2 separate regions of the Homo sapiens genome follow, and region 2 is linked to region 1. Evidence: promoter capture Hi-C in human tissues and cell types (Jung and others, 2019). All regions are on one chromosome and are shown on one strand. The core of a region is centred on a gene start or on the middle of the fragment in contact, and the rest is flanking DNA. Distances in the headings are between cores, read along the strand shown.

The links. The method cuts DNA at HindIII sites, captures the fragments that hold promoters and counts their contacts. A contact is called where the count stands out against the background at its distance.
Region 2: a fragment that was not itself captured here is called in contact with the fragment with the promoter of MELK in region 1 in 1 of the 25 tissues and cell types used here (H1 embryonic stem cells).

What each region holds. Positions count from the first base shown.
Region 1 is chr9:36,571,147-36,576,865 of GRCh38, reverse strand. MELK (maternal embryonic leucine zipper kinase) reads right to left here and starts at 3,971. Exons shown (of 18, transcript NM_014791.4): 1 at 3,859-3,971. RefSeq lists a silencer at 3,890-4,169 and an enhancer at 4,753-5,252. The HindIII fragment of the contact is 26,418 bases long and covers 1-5,719 here.
Region 2 is chr9:36,192,317-36,197,957 of GRCh38, reverse strand. CLTA (clathrin light chain A) reads right to left here. Exons shown (of 5, transcript NM_001833.4): 2 at 370-407. Among named protein-coding and RNA genes, the nearest start is that of CLTA, 4.2 kb to the right of the region's middle. The HindIII fragment of the contact is 6,945 bases long and covers 1-4,953 here.

The sequences.
Region 1 (5,719 bases), core at 2,722-5,221:
AGAAAAAGAAAATTATTATCAGCAAGTAAAAAACGGCTGGGCACAATGGCTCCCGCCTGTAATCCTAGCACTTTGGTAGGCCAAGGCAGGTGGATCACCTGAGGTCAGGAGTTCGAGACCAGCCTGACCAACATGCAGAAACCCCGTCTCTACTAAAAATACAAAAATTAGCCGGGCGTGGTGATGCACACCTGTAATCCCAGCTGCTAGGGAGGCTGAGGAAGGAGAATCGCTTGAACCCAGGAGGTGGAGGTTGCAGTGACCCGCGATCACGCCACTGCACTCTGGCCTGCACGACAGGAGTGAGACTCCAGCTCAAAAACAAACAAAAAAAATTTGGTCAATGAATAGAAAACTAGAGCAGAAGCTTTAGAAGGAAAAATATCGACACTCAAGAAAAAAATTAAATCAGCTTTAAAAAACAAGGTTCAGTCTTCAACATCAAAGCAGAAATAGCACACAAAAAGATAACATGCAAAACGACATTCTGATAAAATAAACAATATTAAGCCATTTCCTAGGAAGAGATCACACTGGACCCAACTTAATAAGTAGGTTGAACATTTAACCTAACGAAATCTGCATGAACACAGTAGGCAAACATTAGAAGAAGCAAGGTCAGGTCCCAGTACTGAGGGAAAACTGTTGATAGAAAATGAAACATTCTGCTTCCACTGGAGTAGAAAAAGTTACTCAAGGCAAGGAGATATCACAGAGGACAAATTTATTCTCACTGGGCACCTGAAGGCACAGGATTAAATACTTTAAACAGCAACACTAATTCAGAAATATTTTAAAGGGCATTTGTCAGTGGGGCAAATGTGGGGATAAACTGGAACCTCATCCTAAAAACAAACAGGAACCATAGGACTAAGAAATTCCAAAAGGCAATAAAAACAGTAAAAGTATAGAGGTCAACCTAAGGCTCAGAAATCTTTGGAATCCTGATACAGAAGAAAAAAGAGAGCAGGAGAATGGAAATGGAGGAACACTGGACTATAAATCTGAATGCACATGTTTACATTCCATGCAAAGGACTGGGCTATTTCAAATTGTCACTCAGAAAGAGAAAGCAATTTGTAAGATGCTGGAATTCACTTCCCAGATTAGGGATTTAAGAGTGTCATAATTAACTTAATAGACTTCTCCCAAAAGAGTTATAAACATCCCAGTCATGGCCTCTGGAAAACTAGCAGAGATGGGCAAGTTGTTTATTTAACAACTAAGGTAAGACTGAAGCCATGCACTTTTTTTTTTCTTTCTTTCTTCCATTTTCTCTATCTACCCGCTTCTCTCAAATTACATCATGTCTTTGGATGAGTAATACCAATGTGGGCCTAGATTATAGCTACTGAATCAAGGGAATATCGTTGTTGCTGCAATGTGAGAAAACTGGTGCTTACATTACAAACTCCTACACTAATAGCAGATTATACTTGATTTGTAAATCTTTGTGAATGTGGAGCTGGTTCTAAATATTCTCATGTGCCCTGTTTATCCTCTAGAGTTTGTTAATATAGAATACAGAAAAGCCTTGAGAACAGAGTAACCCAACTTTGTAGCTGCTGAAGGAGGTATATTATCAGTCAACGCGGAAGACAGCCTCTCAACTGTGAATAATGAAGAAGGAAATTAGACCCCAATCAGACACCTGAGTGCCCTTCTGGGCTTGACTAAATAAATAGAAGAATTGGGGGTATATATAATTGGGTTTTGTTTTTGTTTTTGTTTTTGAGACGGAGTCTTGCTCTCTTGCCCAGGCTGGAGTGCAGTGGCGTAATCTCGGCTCACTGCAACCTCCGCCCTCTGAGTTCAAGCAATTCTGCCTCAGCCTCCCAAGTAGCTGGGATTACAGGTGTGCGCCACCACGCCCGGCTAATTTTTTGTATTTTTAGTAAAGATGGGGTTTCACCATCTTGGCCAGGCTGGTCTTGAACTCCTGACCTCACAATCCATCTGCCTCGGCCTCCCAAAGTGCTGGGATTACAGGCGTGAGCCACCGCGCCCGGCCTATAATTGGGGTCTTTAACTTCTCAGAAGAGCAAGGAATTGGGATAATGAGAAGACGTTTATGGTTAAATTTTAAAGGATAGCAACAAATTGGGGGCATTTTTTAACAATATTATTTGGGCTATTCTATTACTTGCCGCATAAATACATTTACCTTATCTACAGAGCTTGGAAAGACACTGATGCTGAGGATAATTTCAAACAGGAAGTAGAATACAGAATGGTTTTTTGGGTTTTGTCTGTTTATTTGCTTGAGACAGGGTCTCGTTCTGTCACCTAGGCTGGAGTGCAGTAGCTAGATCTCGGCTCACCGCAACCTCCGCCTCCTGGGTTCCAGAGATGCTCGTGCCTCAGCCTCCCCAGTTGCTGGGATTACAGGCATGCGCCACCATGCCCGGTTAATTTTTTTTTTTTTTTTTTTTTTTGTATTTTTAGTAGAGACGGGGTTTCGCCATGTTGGCCAGGCTGGTCTAGAACTCCTGGCCTCAAGTGATCCGCCCACCTCGGCCTCCCCAAGTGCTGGGATTACAAGCGTGAGCCACCACGCCGGGCTCAGAATGGTTTATAATGTGGCCTGTAACACATTTAATTAGCATCCTGCCCTGCTCCCTTGCAAAGGCTTCTGGGAGCACCAACAATGAGGCACTCATTGGGATTGATCTGCCCATCTAGTTGGTCCACAGTAGTTACACAGAAAGGACAGACCCTTGGGAGAAACAAGCCCACGAAGGCCCAGTAAGGGCTTTTCTGATTTTTCTGATTTTCTAGCCAGACTCCATGGGAAACAGAAACCAAAATTTAAACCAAAGTTAGGAACACTGGCCTCTAAACAACAATCCAGGCTCCTGATACTCACCTCATTCCACTAACAAAGGAGAAATACCAAAGGTAATTACCCGTCCTAAGTGCTAGGGACCTGATTCCTCTCTTGGGCAGCCTTCCCTGAGTCTACCCTTTCCAGCTCCCACAACCCTACACCAGGTTTCTTGGTGGGAGCAATCCTGCTGCTCCTATTACTGATACAGCATTCGGTGAAAATTCCCCTTTTAGGCCGGGCGTGGTGGCTCACGCCTGTAATCCCAGCACTCTGGGAGGCCAAGGCGGGCGGATCACCTGAGGACACGAGCTGGAGACCAGCCTGGCCAACGTGGTGAAACCCCGTCTCTACTAAAAATACAAAAAATGAGCCGGGCGTGGTGGCGGATGTCTGTAAGCTCAGCTACTCGGGAGGCTGAGGCAGAAGAATCGCTTGAACTTGGGAGGCGGAGGTTGCGGTGAGCCGAGATCGCGCCATTGCACTCCAGCCTGGGCAACAAGAGCGAAACTCCGTCTTGAAGAAAAAGAAAAAAAATTCCCCTTTTAGTGTGAGCCTCTGAAGCCACTACTCTGGGGAGATGATAGGAGAGGATGGATTTGGACTCTGAAAAGGTAGTGATAACACATCTCCTTTTTTATTGCACTGCCCCAGTAAACTGAGTTGTACAAACAGAAAAAACTCGAAACCCTTCTGTCAACTTTTTTCGCGGGGAAGAGTCACGGAAACTGGAAACGGGAAATGGGAATTCACGTCTATCGCAGCCTCCTAGGTGGCAAACGCTTAGCCTGAACACCTCTTCAATAACCCTGTTAAGTAGACACGGTCATTATCCCCACTTACGGAGAAGAAAACCGCGGGTCGGAAAGGTCAAATATCTTATCCAGGGAACAGGGCTGGTAAAGCGCGGGGCTCCGATGAAATCCTCCAGTCTCCCGAGAGCCAGGAGCAAACTGGGTTTGGGCCGCTGCGCCCCGCACAGCCCAGACCCCAGCCATCAACTGCGACTGCGGCGGGCAGGCGGGAGAACTGACCTGAGGGGCGGAGGGCACGGCTGAGCGGCGCCCGACAGAAGGACAGGGGCCTGCTGTCCTGAGAGACGCGGCTGGTACGGCGTTCCTAAGAATCTTTTCGATCGCCGGGTTGTGGCCGCTTCCGCCCGCCAAGGGAATCAAATCTCCCGGGCCGGAAGGGGCGGGGACGCGGCGGGGGCGCGCGCGGCGCCGGATCCCAGGGAAGCGGACGCGCACGGCAGGCGGGGGCGCGCACAGTGCCGGGGGGTTCTCACCGGGGCAACGGCTCGCGGTCGCTGTGGAGCCGTGAAAGGGATGGCCGGGAGGTCCACTGGGCTGCGAGGGGTGACTTGAGGCCTTGGTCTTGCCCCGGAGGGCACGTGATGATTTTCCAGGTGGCGTGGATATGCCAAGTCTCCACAGAACCCAACTTTCTTACGTTCTCTTCCTAAAATTGACGTGCCCTCTGGCAGTCACAGTTCTCATTTTCGTCCTCCCTTGCCCACTGGCCGTTCTCCCACCCAGCAAAGACAGGAATACCTCCCCCTCTCCAAAATGTGTTGCCACGAGGAATAAGAACCCCAGTAGCTGAGACTACAGGCACGCGCCACCACGCCTGGCTAAATTATTTGTGGGTAGAGACGGGATCTCGCTATGTTGGCCAGGCTGGTCTCGAACTCCTGGGCTCAAGCGATCCTCCCGCCTCAGCCTCCCAAAGTGCTGGGATTACAGGCGTGAGCCACTGTATCCGGCCCAGAAAATCTTTAGACAAATTAAACTTTACAGAGTTGAATTGACCAAAGAATGAGTCCAAAATCCAGTAATCCCTGGAACCAAAATAGGTTCAGAGTGATTCGGGCTGCCATATGTTCAAATAACATTTATGGACAGAAAAAGGAAAATGACTTACAGAAATTGCAGTCAAGTATGGAAACAGCTGGATTGGTTGCAACTCAACCTCTGACTATTTTGAGCACTGTTTAAACAGTTGGCCACCTGTGATTGGCCAAAACTCCGCTGCTGTGATTGACTGAGACTCGCTACTTGTTACAAGGTTACAGTCTCTTTACACATTTACAATTGTAGTTGTCTACAATTCACTATGTATGGAGAAACTGTTAGGCCAGGTGCAAAGGCTCACATCTATAATCCCAGCACTTTGGTGGGGGGGCGGGGGCAGATCATTTGGGGTCAGGAGTTCGAGACCAGCCTGACCAACATGATGAAACCCTGTCTCTACTAAAAATACAAAAAATTAGCCGGGCTTGGTGGCGCGAGCCTATAATCCCAGCTACTCAGGAGGTAGAGGCAGGAGAATCTCTTGATTCTCTCTGCTGGGAGGCAGAGGTTGCAGTGAGTAGAGATCGTGCCACTGCACTCCAGGCTGGGCAACAGAGCAAGACTCCGTCTCAAAAAAAGAGAAAGAGAGAAAGAGAGAGAGAAAAGAAAGAAAGGAAGAGAAGGGGAAGGGAAGGGGAAGGGAGGGGAAGGGAGGGGAAGGGAAGGGAAGGGAAAGGAAAGGAAGGGAGAGAAAGGGAGAGAGAGAAAGAAATAAATTGTTAGTCTGAACTTAAAATGCATAAGGAGGCAGCTTTATGCTAAACTTAATTTAACATGGTCATCTGAATCTTCAGCAAATCATAATCTTTTTGCTGGTGGAGGGTCTTGCCTCCATGCTGCTGATTGATCAGGGTGGTGGTTGCTAAACGTTGGGATGGCTGTGGCAATTTCCTAAAATAAAACAACAATGCTGCATCGATGGACACTTCCTTTCATGAAAGATTTCTCTGTAGCATGTGATGCTGTGTGATACCATTTCATCCACAGCAGGACTTCCTTCAAAGTTAGTTCTCTGAAATCTTGCCACTGCCTTATCAACAAA
Region 2 (5,641 bases), core at 232-2,731, 380 kb after region 1:
GCCACTCACTGAACTAAGGAATATTAATATTACCAGGTTAACCTAATCAGACTATAAACAAAGATGGAAGGAGAATTATTTAAAGTATTAGTATTAACTTACTGCACTCAACACAGTATCATTTGAATGGTGATTTCTTTAGAATAAAGGTGATAACACTAGGGGCAGGTAAATAACATTTTTAAACAGTTCTCTTTTTATCAATGCTACCTCTCTTTAAATCTTTCCACTTTGGTAGATAACACACCAGCCAGTAATACATTCAGGAAAGTCAAAGGACTGGGGTTTCTTTCTAGGTCAGTCAATTAAAATCACAGGAAAGGAAGATTCTCAATCACTATCAATGAACAGAATCAGAGTACTCTGTACCTGGTAGTATTCACCATTCATTACTCCATCAACAGCATCTGCAAGACATAAGATTTTGGTCTATCAATAAGGACTGGTCAAACACTGGGCCAAAGGGTTGTACAGTAGAATACAGCATCATATGCTGTATGAACCTTGAGCTACTAAATGCTATCCCTGTGGTAGGTGCTATATACAACAAATAAAACCAAGATGTGCTTATATACAAATTTCACCAAAATGTGTACACATCTGTCCTTAAGCTCCCAAGTCCAAAAGCTTTTGATTTTATTTTCTGTTTTCTATTTTACAGTGGTAACAAATGGAAGACTAGCAGAAAGAGAACAGTGTTTCTCTATGAAAATTCTGCATGAGGGAAAAAAAAAAGTGTGGCCTGGAATCACCCATAGTGAGCAGAGACCTGCAGCTTCATCTTTGAGACAGTCTTGCTCTGTCGCCCAGGCTGGAGCAAAGTGGCCCAATCATGGCTTACTGTAGCCTCGACCTTTTGGGCTCAAGCGAACCTCCCACCTCAGTCCCCACAGGAGCTGGGATTGCAGGCATGCGCCACCACGCCTGGATAATTTTTCTATTTTTTTGTAGGAAGGGGGTTTCGCCATGCTGCCCAGGCTGCTATCGATTTCCTGGACTCAAGCGATCCACCCGCCTCGGTCTCCCAAAGTATTGGATTACAGGCATGAGCCACCATGCCTGGCCTCTCATATTTTTCTTAATTTTCCTAGTTGACTTTTACTCCTATATGTCAGTACAAAAATGAGTTTCTTATAGTTTGTCAGTGGCCTTTTACCACTTTAAGGCATGTGCCACCTACCTATGTAGTTTTTTAAGCACTCTATAAAGTTTTGGAAATATGAAGTTTATCAAACTAGTGAAAGCATGGGGGAAGCATATTCAATTTCGCCTCTGTAATAAATTTCTTGGTGTAGAATTGCTGGGTTACAGCTGGGCGCGGTGGCTCACACCTATAATCCCAGCACTTTGAGAGGCCAAGGTGGGAGGATCACTCGAGGTCAGGAGTTCAAGACCTGCCTGGCCAACATGGTGAAACCCACCTCCATATACTAAAAATACAAAAATTAGCCAGGGTGGTGGCATGAGCCTGTAATCCCAGCTACTCAGGAGGCTGAAAGAGGAGAATTGCTTGAACTCGGGAGGCAGAGGTTGCAGTGAGCCAAGATCGCGCCACTGCACTCCAGCCTGGGTGACGGAGCGAGACTCCATCTCAAAAAATAAAAAAAAAAAAAAAGAAAAAAGAAAGAAAAAAAAGGAATTGCTGGATCACAGGATATGTATTTTATTTTTTTTTGAGAGAGAGTCTTGCTCTGTTGCCCAGGCTAGAGTACAGTGGTGCAATCTTGGCTCACTGCAACCTCCACCTCCTGGGTTGTTCAAGTGATTCTCTTGCCTCAGCCTCCTGAGTAGCTGGGACTACAGGCGTGAGCTATCATGCCCACCTAATTTTTTTTGTAGTTTTAGTAGAGACGGGGGTTTCACCACGTTGGCCAGGATGGTCTCGAACTCCTGACCTCAGACGATCCACCCACCTCAGCCTCCCAAAGTGCTGGGATTACAGGCATGAGCCACTGCGCCCAGCCAGGATATGTATTTTTTTATTTTTTTTGAGACGGAGTCTCACGCTGTTGGCCAGGCTAGAGTACACTGGCGCGATCTCGGCTTGCTGCAACCTCCGCCTCCCAGGTTCAAGTGATTCTCCTGCCTCAGCCTCCCGAATAGCTGGGATTACAGGCACGTGCCACCATGCCCGGCTAATTTTTGTATTTTTTAGTAGAGACGAGGTTTCACTATGTTGGTCAGGCTGGTCTCAAACTCCTGACCTCAGGTGATCCGCCCACTTCAGCCTCCGAAAGTGCTGGGATTTCAGGCGTGAGCCACCGCACCTGGCCCAGGATATGTATTTCAAAGACTTCTAAAATTCTACCCACTTGTTCCTATTAGTCTACCAGTTTATATTACTACTAGCAGCACAAGTGCCCCATTTCTTAGACCTTCCCTGATACTAGGGACTGTGCTTGATCATGTTTTAAAATTTTTGCTAATTTGATAATGGAAAAAAAAAACAAACTCATGGTGGCTTTGTTGTGCCAATCTTATTTCCAGTGAGGTAATCACATACCCGACACCTGATTTTCTTCTTTACTGAATTTTCTGAGTTTGCCTATTTTCCTGCTATTTTTTGATCTCTAAGTATTTGCTCTCTAATAGTCAAATATTTTCCCTAGTTTCTCTTTTGATTTGGTTTATGGTATTTAACACTTGGAACAACTTAATTTGTGTATGTAGACATGATCGACTTTTTCTTCATGATTTCTGTATCTGCTTTTATGCTGAAGGCCTTTCCTATTATGAGATAGACAAATACTCACTTTTCTTCTTTTACTTTTTAAATGTCTCTCTTTAATCCACCTGGAATTTATTTTTGTGTAAGACAGAAGAGTGAGATAGTTTTAAATCCTAGATCCTACAGTGGCTAGTCTGGCCAGGCCTACATTATGGTTAATATAGTACAATTGACATACCAACTATCCACTAATATAGTCCAGCCCTGGGCTGGAATATGAGAGACTTTGATCACTACTCCATATACAAAACAAGAAGCAATCCTCATCCCACATCTCCTTAAAAATCACATGCTGTCTGAAGGCTCCTCCAGACCCACTGGCATCTGCTTTCCTCTTTATTAGTTACTGTATTACTGCACTAACATTCTTACAAGAATCAACTGGCTCAAGCCAAGGGATCGTCTGTTGCTGTGGAAACATGCAGAAAGGACATGTAGGGCCTTGACTTACTACAACAACTAAACTAAGCAACACGATGCTTCAGAAGGAAACTTTCTAGGGCCTTTCAGGAACTCCAGACAGAAAAAGGGCCAGTTTTCAAAAGTGAAAGACTGTCCCAAACCCACTTTCAACTTTCCACATTCCAGAAACATTTGAAGTCAAGCAGACCTACGTTTGAAGCTGCACTTGAGCCATTTATTACCTTGCTACCTTAGTGACACTGCTCAACTTCCACACCGATCCATTCTCATCTGAAATATGACACTACCACTTAACCTGTGGAGCTACTGCTGGGATCTGAAAGTGTACCTGGTATACAGCAAATGTGCAGTACAATTAACTATCATGCATGAGATTTCCCTAAACTTCCCTCCACCACTGCTACCAATAAAATTACTTCTCCAGAAAGCTTCCCTTTAATTCACCCATGTCTCTTTCTTCTCCTACAAGAAATAACTTGTCACCGGGTGCGGTGGTTCACACCTGTAATTCCAGCACTTTGGGAGGCCAAGGCGGGTGGCTCACCTGAGGTCAGGAGTTTCAGACCAGTCTGGCCAACATGGTGAAACCCCGTCTCTACTAAAAATACAAAAAGTTAGCTGGGCACGGTGGTGGGCGCCTGTAATCCCAGCTACTCGGGAGGCTGAGGCAGGATAACTGCTTGAACCCAGGAGGCGGAGGTTGCAGTGAACCGAGATCGCACCACTGCACTCCAGCCTGGGTGACAGAGCGACTGTCTCAAAAACAACAAAACACCATAATAGTGCCTTACTGCTGTACTCTCTCTGTGGCTTGTCTCTCCTGTTCTCTTCCCCGACTCAGCCCTCATGATTGAGAGCTTTTCAACAGCTCCACTTGTGCTGCCTCCTTCATGACCACCTGTTCTTCCTCAATATCCCCCACAGCTGGTTACCTCAATATCACTTCACCCAGCTGGTTTCTTCCTGCCTCTAAACCTACGTCTCTTTTCTGGATCTCTTAACAACCAAAGGAGTCATCCAAGGCTTAGCCCTAACCCCTCTGGTTTTTGCCTGTGCCCATCCTCCATAGACGCTTTCCGCAAGGCTGGGGCCAGTTTATTTTCCTCTCATCAATCTGTCATAGCTGACTGCCTATATATCTCTGTATAATACATCAGAAAGAGAGCTCCCGCCTAAAACCTCAATTTACTCAGTACACTTCAAAGCCTAAAGGCCTTGTAACTCCTTTCTCCCACTAATAGTAGCTGGAATTCACTAGATACTTAATATAACTGTAAGCACTTTATAGACACTCTTTAATGTAATCCTAAAGATGCCACATAGCATTATAAATTATATTATGCAACTTTTACAAAGGAGAAAACTGAGGCCGGGCAGTGGTGGTAGTTATATACATTGTCTGAGATCACAAAGCTAAACTCACACTCAAGCAGTTTAGGATAGCATAGAATCTTAACCACTAGAGCATATCTTTAAAAAAAAAAAAAAAGAAGGAAAAAGAAAACTAAGAGAGAAAAAGTGTCCAATCAGTTCTCTAAACTCCAAAGGAAATGCTGACCACTGCATATTACCAACTTCAATTACACTGTCAGGAATCTGGCTTTAAGTCACCAAATGCTTAGTTCACTAAGAAAGTCCCTCCTAGGAACTAAGTCAGCAACCATTTCTTTCCTTCCCTTTGCCGAAGGCTTGATGCACAAAGGACCGAGCATCCAACTCTATTCTCTCCCTTTTACCTTCCCTAACTGCCCGTCACCAAGATCTGTCAGTTCTACATAGGACCCTTGGATCTGACATTTTTGCCCATTTCTTTGTCAAACGTGAGCATCTACTACATGTCAGACACACTGCTAGGCAGTGGAGATAAAACAGTAAGGGTAACACTGTCCTTGAATCAGGACAATCTTCCAACTACAGATCTTGGGTTCTGCTTCTCCCAAATCTGTTCCACCTGGGACAGCCACAGCTGCCTGTCTGTTATCGCACTACACCCCTGCTAAAACAACTAAACACTGCAACAGAATGTGGTATATTCTAAGAGTGGGTAGACTTGGGGCTCAGCTATTAACTCGTGCTTTTTTAAGCAAGTCGTTTCTCTCTAGGATTGCTTCTCTTCTATTAAATGAGGAAGGTTAAACTAAGGGTCTAAGAAGTCAATTTTAAAATTCTCAGACAAATGTTAGAGACCACCCAATGAAAATATCCCCTAATCACTTAAGGCCAACTTCATCTCACAATCACAGCCTAGTTTAGTCCAACCTACCCGCTATAAAGTTGCATATTCGGGCATATTACATGTTCCCACTAAGTTCTTATTGGGGGACTGATTTGTTTAGGAAGCAACATGGTGCAGTCAAAAACTCAAGAGGCTGCAAACTAGCAGCACACCCACCAACCCATCCATCAAAAGGTTCCGCCTGGCTGGCACAGTAACTTGAGACTGCTGGATCTGAATGCCTTTACACAGAGCACTACTATAGTGCAGCAAAG